Linked DNA regions of Homo sapiens: region 2 is linked to region 1. Evidence: promoter capture Hi-C in human tissues and cell types (Jung and others, 2019). All regions are on one chromosome and are shown on one strand. Each heading gives the region's core, a stretch centred on a gene start or on the middle of the fragment in contact. The rest is flanking DNA. Distances are from core to core; before and after follow the strand shown.

Region 1 (4,639 bases), core at 938-3,437:
CCGGGGATTGGGGTGGGGGACGCGAGGGCCCACCTGGCAGGAGTCGTGATTTTCGCTCCCCGCACACAGCATGTCATCGCGGACGATTTGAAAGCTGTGGCCCGTATGGAGGCCGGTGTGATATTCCGCGTTGCAAAGGTGGTTTTCCACTACGGGGACTTCCACCTCCTTCAGCGGGTATGGCGGCGGCAGGTGCACTGGGGGCGGAGGGGGGCGTGGAGCCGGGTCTGGGGCCGGCTGGGTGCTGCTTCGTGGACTTGGTGGCAGAGTCACGGGCAGGGGAGATGGCACCATGGGCCCAGTGCTGTTCTGTGCCTGCAGCCCCGGGGAAGGGGCGGTGAATGCAGTCCAGGCCCCTCCGCTGAGGCTGGTCCTGGGTCCCTGGCCTCATTTAAGCCCCATCTGGGGAAGGGAGGGGAGGGCCCTGGAGGTTGCCAAGCTGGGCTCCATGGCACGGGGGTGCAGAGCCCGACCCGTGTCTCCCCCTGGGCTCAGCTGACTTTCGTCTGGGCTAGGCCCATGGTCCACGGTTGGCCCTAGCCGAGGGGAACACAGGGCGCTGGGCTCAGCTTCCCCGCTGTGTGGGGCGGAATAGCGGGACAGTGGCTCAGGCCCCTTCTGAGTGACCCAGAGGTCACAGCCCAGGGTTGCCGCTCAGGCTGTACCCCAAAGCTTTGCTCTGAATTGTGGATAAAATGGGGACAAGACCTTCTAGAAGTGAAAATGTGCCTCGTGGAGGGCCACAGTGAGCTTCGTCCAGCCCCCCACAGCACTGCCACGACCCCGATTCCCAGGCCCCTGCCTTGTCTGTAGCACAGGGATGGAGGGCAGGCAGGTCTCATCCCAGCACCGGTCTCTCTCCTTCCAGCAAGACCCCCGTGTGATTTCTCTCTCCACATAGCAAGTCCGTGACGTACAAACTTTTGATGCACCCTTTCAGGCAAGGGGAAACCGAGGCACGGAGGTGCTAAGGGACTCTCCAAACCCCTGGGGTGGGGGACGCCCAGGCCCTTTGGACTCACCGTCTCTGCTCAGGGCACCTGCTGCCTCTCGCCACCGCCTGCTCCATCCATCCTGGCCTCCACAGTCCCCCTCCCTGAGCCGCCCTGAGGGACCCTGTCACCCCACGGACTGGCCTGTGGCTGTGACTTGGTGCCCACCTGGCCCGGCCTCCCGCTGTCCCCAACACCCACCATTATTGTCCACGTCGCCCCAGCCAGTGACCCAGCACGGCATCCCCGGGGGGAAGGTCTCCGAGGCAGGGGGCAGCGTGACCGTGTGGATGTGGCTGGAGATGTTCACGGGCTCCTCCAGCTCCAGCAGGGCGATGTCCGCCCCGGTCTGGATGATGTAGAACTGTGGGTGCACGATGATCCTGCTGACCGGCAGCAGCTGGTCCTGGTAGTAGAGGTGCTGCTCCCGCAGTTGCACCCTGAGGGCGGCCAGATCCTTGATGTCCCTGGGCAGCGGAGGATCCCACTCAGGGCCCTGGGCAGCCCCCAGGAGCACCCGGGAGCCAGGGCTCACATCCAGCCCTTGCCCACCCCTCCAGGCCCCAGGAGACTCACGGTTCCACGCAGTGCGCCGCGGTTAGCACCCACTGGGGGTGGATGAGGGAGCCCCCGCAGAAGTGCATCCAGTATGGGCCGCGGACTCTCAGGCTCACCTGCCAGGGCCACTTGCTCCTGGGGGCCTCCTGCCCCCCAACAATGCCCGTTTGCTGCAGGGCCTGGCCTGGGGCTGGGGCAGGTGCCAGGTCAGGACCAAGAAGCCGCCCCACGCCTGGGACCAGCCCTTCCCTGTGTGGGGGCCAGCCCGGCCTCCCCAGAACCCACCCAGGCCCTGATCTGTGGAATGTGGTGAGGGGCAGGGTGGACCCCGGCTGGGACTCACCAGGGGCCACGTAGGCCGGGCTCGCCAGGACGGGCAGCGCCAGCAGCAGCAGGCTCAGCATCTGGGGAGCAAGGAGGAGCATCGTGGGCCTGGCCGGGCCTCACAGGGCAGGGCTGGGGGCTACAGATTGTGGGGTGAAGAATGGAGCTGGGACGGGGGGACCGGGGTGGGTCCAGGCCTGCGGGCCTGGGTCTTGGTGCTCTGAGTCTGAGGCTGGGCCACTCTGCTCCAGGTGACGCTGATGTCAGGGTCTCTGAGAGTAGGGACTTACCCTGGCCACTCCCTGTTCCTTCTACCCAGCGGGCTCTCCCCTCCCCATTTATGCTTCCAGATCAGGAGGGGGCGGAGGAGGGGCGCTGGGTCCTCCCATCCAGACTCGGAGGAAGTGGATGACTCAGACCCAGGGCCCCCGTGTAACACATGCCCCCGCCACCCCGATGCCCTCTGTGTGTGGGGCTGCCAGGCAGGCCCCGCCGAGGGCTGAGCACTGGAGGCTCGCAGCTCCACCTGTCAGCTGGTGGATCCCAGCACTGGAACCCACCACCTTCCCGCTGGTGGGATCTGCTCCTGCCCCTGTCTCGGTGCCAGGAGGCCTTCAGGCATAGCTGCACCCAGGTGGCCTGGCTGCCCCAGGCTACAAGACCCGTCGCTCCTGAAACCTGTTTCCCCAAGAGGGACACGGGGTGAGGAACTCATGTCCATGGGCCACCCTCCAAGAGACGGGAAGGTGCCCACGGGGTGGGGACATGACGGGTGACACCCCTCCTACGGACTCCGAATCCACGGGGGTGGGGCCAGCCCTCCTCGACTCACTTGGTTGGGGGCTCACATGAGACCCCTTTGTCAGATGGGGAAACAGCCTTGAGAGGGGACAGCACCAAGTGTCCTCAGCCAGGAAGGGGCCCTGCTCCCCACCTCCCGTATGAGACCCAAGTCCTCCAACGATTCCTCAATGTCCACCTCTGGGGCTGTCCGTGCAGGTCCCCTGGTCTGCAGGTGCCTTCTTATCATGGGATCTGAGCTTCATCCGCAGAGGGAAGGGCAGACAGGAGTGCAGGTGCAACCCCAGGAGACCCAGCCCAGCTCCCCATGGACTCACCCCCAGCCCCAGCCCAGCTCCCCATGGACTCACCCACAGCCCCAGCCCAGCTCCCCATGGACTAGTCCCAGCCCCAGCCCCAGCTCCCCATGGAGTAGTCCCAGCCCCAGCCCCAGCTCCCCATGGACTCACCCACAGCCCCAGTCCAGCTCCCCATGGACTCACCCCCAGCCCCAGCCCAGCTCCCCATGGACTCACCCCCAGCCCCAGCCCAGCTCCCCATGAACTAGTCCCAGCCCCAGCCCAGCTCCCCATGGACTAGTCCCAGCCCCAGCCCAGCTCCCCATGGTCTCACCCCCAGCCCCAGCCCAGCTCCCCATGGACTAGTCCCAGCCCCCGGCCCCAGCTCCCCATGGACTCACCCCCAGCCCCAGCCCAGCTCCCCTTGGTCTCACCCCCGGCCCCAGCTCCCTGTGCTCTCCATCCCATTCAGCGCTGACACTGTCCCTGCAGCTCCGTCCACCCCACCTCCTGACTCACCTGGGCCTGTTGGTCACTGGGGCCTCCAGCCCACCTCCTCTGCTTCTGAGCCCCAGGACCCCCTGCCTGCCCCCCGACCCCCAACACAGGGCCACTCCGGGGCTCCTCCTGCCCCCACCCTGCCTGGGACCAGCCTGGTTTGAGGCTGACTCTGCACTGCGGGGCCATATCCATCTGGACTCCTTCCGGGCTGCACCCCCCGGGGGACAGGCAGGGGTGGCCCAGACCGCTCCTGCTCATGACCCTGCTTCTCCTCCATTCTCTGGACAAACTCCCCAGAGGCCTCCACCTGCCCCGTCCTGGTTCCATGAATGAGGCCCACAAGATGGGACCTTCAGGAGCCCAGGAGGTGAGGGGATGGGGTGACGGGGGACACCAGGGATGAGGGTGTGGCAGGGACACGGGAGACACCAGGGCTGACGGTGAAGAAGAGACTCAGGGGACACCAGGGCTGGGAGAACCCAGGGACACACGGGGACACCGGGGCTGTGGTGTGCAGAGGGCTCTGGGACCCCCGAGTCAGGGGCTCTGGGGCCGCTCCTCCTAGGAATGCTCCGATTGGGTCAGGCCTGGGAGGCGGACCAATCAGCACCATGGGGATGCGAGAGCCTTGATTGGCTAACACTGGGCCAATCAGGGCGCGTCCTGGGCACCCCGCCCCGATCCCCGGCCGCTCCCCTGGGGCTGCTGCAGGGCTGGGGTCCCAGGCCATTGACAGACACTGGGCAAGAGGCCACGTGGGGCAGTGTCCCCGAGAGAAGGGTGGGGAGTCGGGTGAGACGACAGTGGCCGCGCCCAGACTCAGGGCAGCGATGGGAAACTCAGCCCCAGGAGCTTGCTGGGCTGGGGAGACGCACCTGGCGCGTGCAGAGGCCCCGGCAGCCATGACTCACGAGGCGGAGAACTGCACGGAGAGCTCCGGGCATCCGCAGGGGGTTCCCCCCGGCGTCCTCGGCCGAGTGCCGGAGATGCAGAGAGACGTGGGAGCCGCGTCGGAAACGAGAACCACCAGATGAGAGGGGCGGAGTCCGGGAGTGCGCGCGGGGCTGGGGATATCGCGTGTTCCCAGCAGCTGAGTGGAGAAACCTTGTCAGAGGCAGGCACTGGAGAGTCCTCGGAAGGGTATGGAAGGGTACGAGGGGAGAAAGTAATCCCGAAACCAAAGGC
Region 2 (4,639 bases), core at 657-3,156, 440 kb before region 1:
TCGCTCTATACCCTGTGGATGAACAAGTGAAGACGGTGTTTCAGTTAATGCATGTTGGTTTTCTTTCTCAAGCGTTGACTTTCATCTCATCTGGCCCCGATCTAGCAGGCAGAATGGTGTGGAGCCTCCTAGAGAGGAACTCTCAGGCTCACAGTCTGAGAAGTTTACCCTGAATCCACATAATGCCTGTAAGGATATTAAGTATGTTAGAAAACATATGAAAATAGCTAATACATCAGAAGAAAGACATCCAATCTGTTTTTTATTTTATTTTTTTACACAGGGTCTTGCTCTGTGGTCCAGGCTGAAGTGCAGTGGCATGATCATCACTCACTACAGCCACAACCTCCTGGTCTCAAGTGATCCTCCTGCCTCACTCAGCCTCCCGAGTAGCTGGGACTACAGGCATGCACCACCACATCCGGCTAATTTAGAGAAGTTTTTTTTTGTATAGACAGGGTCGTAGTATGTTGTCTAGGCTGGTCTCAAACTCCTGAGCTCAAGTGATCCTCCCACCCTGGCCTCCCAAAGACCCAAAGACTACAGACCTGAGCCACCATGCCCACCTGTTTTCTTGACAGGACTTGCATATGACAAGCTCTCTGCTTCTCCTCACCTATGCATTGCAAGCCAGGTCAGAGGCAGGTTAAACACCTTAAGGACATGTTAGGACAAGTGGCATACAAGGGAAAAAAACCCGTTCATTTAAGTTACAGAAACAGAAAAAAAAAAACTGGCTTATTCCCACACTTACTCTACTCAAAGCTTTGAGAAGACTAATTTTGGCATCCTCTGGCTAAATACAAAACAACAAAACAAAACAAGGCAAACTCTTTCAGCAAGAGCTGTGGGGGAAGGGACTATAAGGGACACACACAACTGACAGGCAAAAGCTCTGAGCACGTGATTGCTAAGTTTAATTCAACTGTTACACCCCATTCTGCCTTGTAAAAATAACAAAACGCTCCTATCAAAATGACATTGTGATGTGAGTACAGGCTTTTTGTTTTGGTACAGCTCTAAAAAATGTTGGCACCGAATGCACTTAAGAAAAGTGTTAAGGCTTAATACAAATACAGAGACGAGTCATTTCTCAATGCAGCTTAGAGGGTGAGAACAGGATGCTAGGTTTTTAAATCTTCCAAATACAGGCAGTCCCCAACGTACAGACATACAGGACACCTCCCAAATGTAAACGACAGCCACACAGCAGGGCTTGCATGCGCAGGAACTCTTCTTCTCCCAGTGAGCAGACTAAGCACTCTGAATCCCACCCCACTGCCTCGCAGAGGGAAAGAAGGCAGGACAGATGCAAGAAGAGTAATGTCAGGGGCTCCATCACAGCTGCCCAGGGGCTTCTGCTGTAGTTCATATTTTCCTCATTCCCATCTCTGGTTTCTCCCATAACCCAGAAGTCCCTGCCAGGGGCGGAAGTAAAGAGCTTTTCCTCTCACCTAGCGGACTGCAAGGGCTGGGAGAATCACAGGGCCCAGTACCGTCACGTCCTATTTCTTCCTGGCAATCTGATTTGGAATTCGTGAATCATTTTCTCAATAAAAAAACAGAAGTTATAAATGGTAGTTCATTTCCACCATTAAACTGTTTCCTTTCAAGTTGCATCAATGACTTTGAAGCACAAACCACCTGAAGTGTGTGTAGAGTCACACAGAGTGTTTCTTGGCTCCAAAGTCTACAGGCAATCAAAAGGGGGAAGCTGTCTTTGGTTGACAAAGCCTTGTGCAGACCCCAGTGTGCCAGGTGTAGGAAGGGGAGCTTGGCAGGCGGCTCCTGCAGGCACTTAAGCAGTGAGGCAGCATGAGCCTGACTGAACATGGCTGCTGCTTTTCTGAAGTTTAATAATGATGATGTTTCTAGCACCAAGCATTAGCTTTGTAGGCACTCAGAGCAAAGCTGCTGCCGCCACCCAGACGTTCTCCTCTGTTAACAGATGCCCACCCAAGGGCAGCATGAGAACTGGGCCTGCAGCCCTTGAGGGGGATGGGCAGAGGCTTCTGCCTGAAGATGAAAGCACCACCACCTTTGCCATCCCATTAGCTGAGTGAGCAAAGCTCAGGGAATTGGACAGGTGTGACTTTGCTACTGAACTCCTTCATCTCCTGGCCTAAGGTCTCTAGTCTCTTCTGGAAGCTTGTTTGTGAGTTAGATCCAGAAGTTCTATAAAGCTTTGTAGAGGGTGGCCTCCACAGCTCTTCTTCCTCTTTGGTGTACCTGAACAATTGACTTTTTTCTGGAAAGGTGTCAGAAACAGACCAGAGTCAACAATCATTTATGTAAAGCTGGTATTTAAAATTTAGCTTTTTAGATATTATTAAAGAATCCAAACCTAAGAACCCAAGGTTCCCAAGCATCTCTTCTTTCCACCAACCAATTAAGGAATAAAGAAAGACACAGGAAGAATTTAAACAAGCCACTTACTCGGAAATATCTGAATAGATTTTTAAAGTCCCGCAGAGGTCAGCGGGCCTCATTTATGGGAAGAACTGTGACTTGTGAAGGGAACTGTCTACATCACTGGAGAACAACAAACGCCTAAACTTAAGGCTGATGAGAGGAAAAAAGCAAGAATTCACAAGCAAAACTGGCATGTAAAGGACCAAGACCAGCCCTGTGTGAAAGACAGGCAGATTCCAACATGAGATCAGATCAGGCCGAGGTTTCAGATGGCAGGAACTGGGCACTTCAGAGGGTCAGGGCACCAAAACAATCTTCCATGAAGTAGAAGACGGATAACTATTATTATTTGGTTTTTTGAAAGCTGCCGAGGAAAAGCAATCAAGATGTTTCAAGAAAAGACTACAGAACAATATGCTGGGGGTAAAATGAAGTGGGGATGCTGGATTTAGCAGCCGTGATCTCCAGAATGGAAGCGGTTCTGCTAAGAGGTCAATATACTGTTAGTGTTTCTGCTTACGCCTCCTCCATCCCACAGCAGCAGTGGACAGGCTGTTTTGGTTTCTTTCAGTCATTCCTAGACATCCAATCAGCTGGCGGGCTGTTGATCCAAGGACCATGCCCTGCCCCACCTCCCCACCCTCACCCCCCTTCCAGTTCCTCTCAAACCTGGACTACACATGAGTGATGGCCAGGGGTGCCCCATTTCATCCCCACAGAGGCATCTCCCAGCCATCTGGAAGGCACGGGTCTCCAAGCAGCTGTCATGACGGCCAGGAGACGCTGAGCAGCCAGGCTCACATAAGACTAACCCTCTTCCCACCCCGCTCATTTGGGCAAAAGGAAATGAAAACATGGCTACCCTATCTCTTGAGTTTCTGGTCTGGCTCCGGGTGGAGCAGTGGCTTCTCTTAGTAGAAGGAGATGCTGGATTTGCCTCCCGGTGGGTTCAGGACCTTGTTGTGAGAGCGAGGCCGCGGCCCCAGCCGGGGCTCATGGCTGTCGACTGTGGGCATGGGCTCCTGCTCCTTGGCGGGGCCTGCTTTTCTGGCGCTGCCTTTCTCACCTGGCTCTGCTCCAGCCGGGATGCTCCTTGCAGCTGTGGGACACAAAGTTAGAACAACATCCCATTAGAGGCAACCCATGACCCTGACAGGCAGGCTGTGGAAATAAAAAGTGTGTCATAGAGCAACCTGCAAGAAATTCATGCTGTAACTGGGAAAGAGAAGACAATATAGACAGGCTTTTCATCTGGTACCAAAACAACTCACTGTAATTAGCAGATGCAGTTTTGAAATGGGCATAAAGTTGGGGCTTGCTACTGTAAATACTCCTTGATTTCTTCCTAAGTGAATTGTTTCTTTATATTGCTTGTTAGACACCACTCCCATTTCTTCCATCTCAAGTATAGAAAGCAAGCCCCTGAGAGTGACCATGAGGCGGCGAGGGAATGCATCCTAGGTGAGGGCTTAGCAAGGCAAAGGCAGGCTCTGTTGCTGTTACCCTGGGCTTTTCAAAGGTGAATGAAATCCCACAAATCTTGGTCATTAGTTAAGGGAAATGGAGACCCAAAGGCAGAAACCGATGCCCATGGTCAGGCTAAAGAGCCGTGGGGAGAGTCGAAGTCTGCCGCTCAACCTGAGCAGTGGCTCACTCCCCCGGGGTGACTCACCATGGAGACACCCGCCTCCCCATCCTCCATCCCTCTCTTGTGCCCCTCTCTTCTCGATTAGTTCTGCCAGCTCTATGCTTGGTCATGAGTTCACTGAAGGTTTGGGATCCCTGCCCATCACTACACAGATGAGCTTCTAGGAGACGACCCCATGGCCCTGGGCCTAGGCTGATGAGCAAGACAACCAAGTCCCAGGGTTTCACCCTAGCCTTCTTCAAATGCTGAATCCTCTTGCAGTGGATACACCTGAGCTCGTTTTAATCAGGTGGCCCAGAAGGTGCAAAGAAAGACTCCTTTTCATTCCCAGAGGAGAGACTAGCAACTCTTCCAGAAATAATGAGGCCACTCAGGAGAAGGGAAAGAAAACAAAAGCTCACCTTTAAGATCCGATTTTGGTTCTTCTCCTTCACATAAGAAAACATGATCCTGCAACAAGGCAAACCACCAAATCAGGACTCACTCAGAAAATTTTACCCTCATTCAAATGGACAATGAAAATCAGGACCATATAACCTTTTAATTTACAAAAATGCTTGTATATCTGACCTCAGGACC

The links. Contacts are between HindIII fragments. The study calls those that stand out against the background at their distance.
Region 2: a contact is called between a fragment that was not itself captured here and the fragment with the promoter of TPSD1 in region 1, in 3 of the 25 tissues and cell types used here (H1 embryonic stem cells, lymphoblastoid cells and spleen).

The regions. Positions count from the first base shown.
Region 1 is chr16:1,253,617-1,258,255 of GRCh38, reverse strand. TPSD1 (tryptase delta 1) reads right to left here and starts at 2,187. Exons shown (of 5, transcript NM_012217.3): 1 at 1,894-2,187; 2 at 1,569-1,740; 3 at 1,194-1,459; 4 at 34-197. The coding sequence starts at 1,975. The HindIII fragment of the contact is 12,300 bases long and covers 1-4,639 here.
Region 2 is chr16:1,697,683-1,702,321 of GRCh38, reverse strand. It overlaps JPT2 (Jupiter microtubule associated homolog 2), which reads right to left. Exons shown (of 5, transcript NM_144570.3): 4 at 4,462-4,510; 5 at 236-3,511. The coding sequence ends at 3,324. Among named protein-coding and RNA genes, the nearest start is that of MAPK8IP3, 6.2 kb to the left of the region's middle. The HindIII fragment of the contact is 5,896 bases long and covers 1-4,639 here.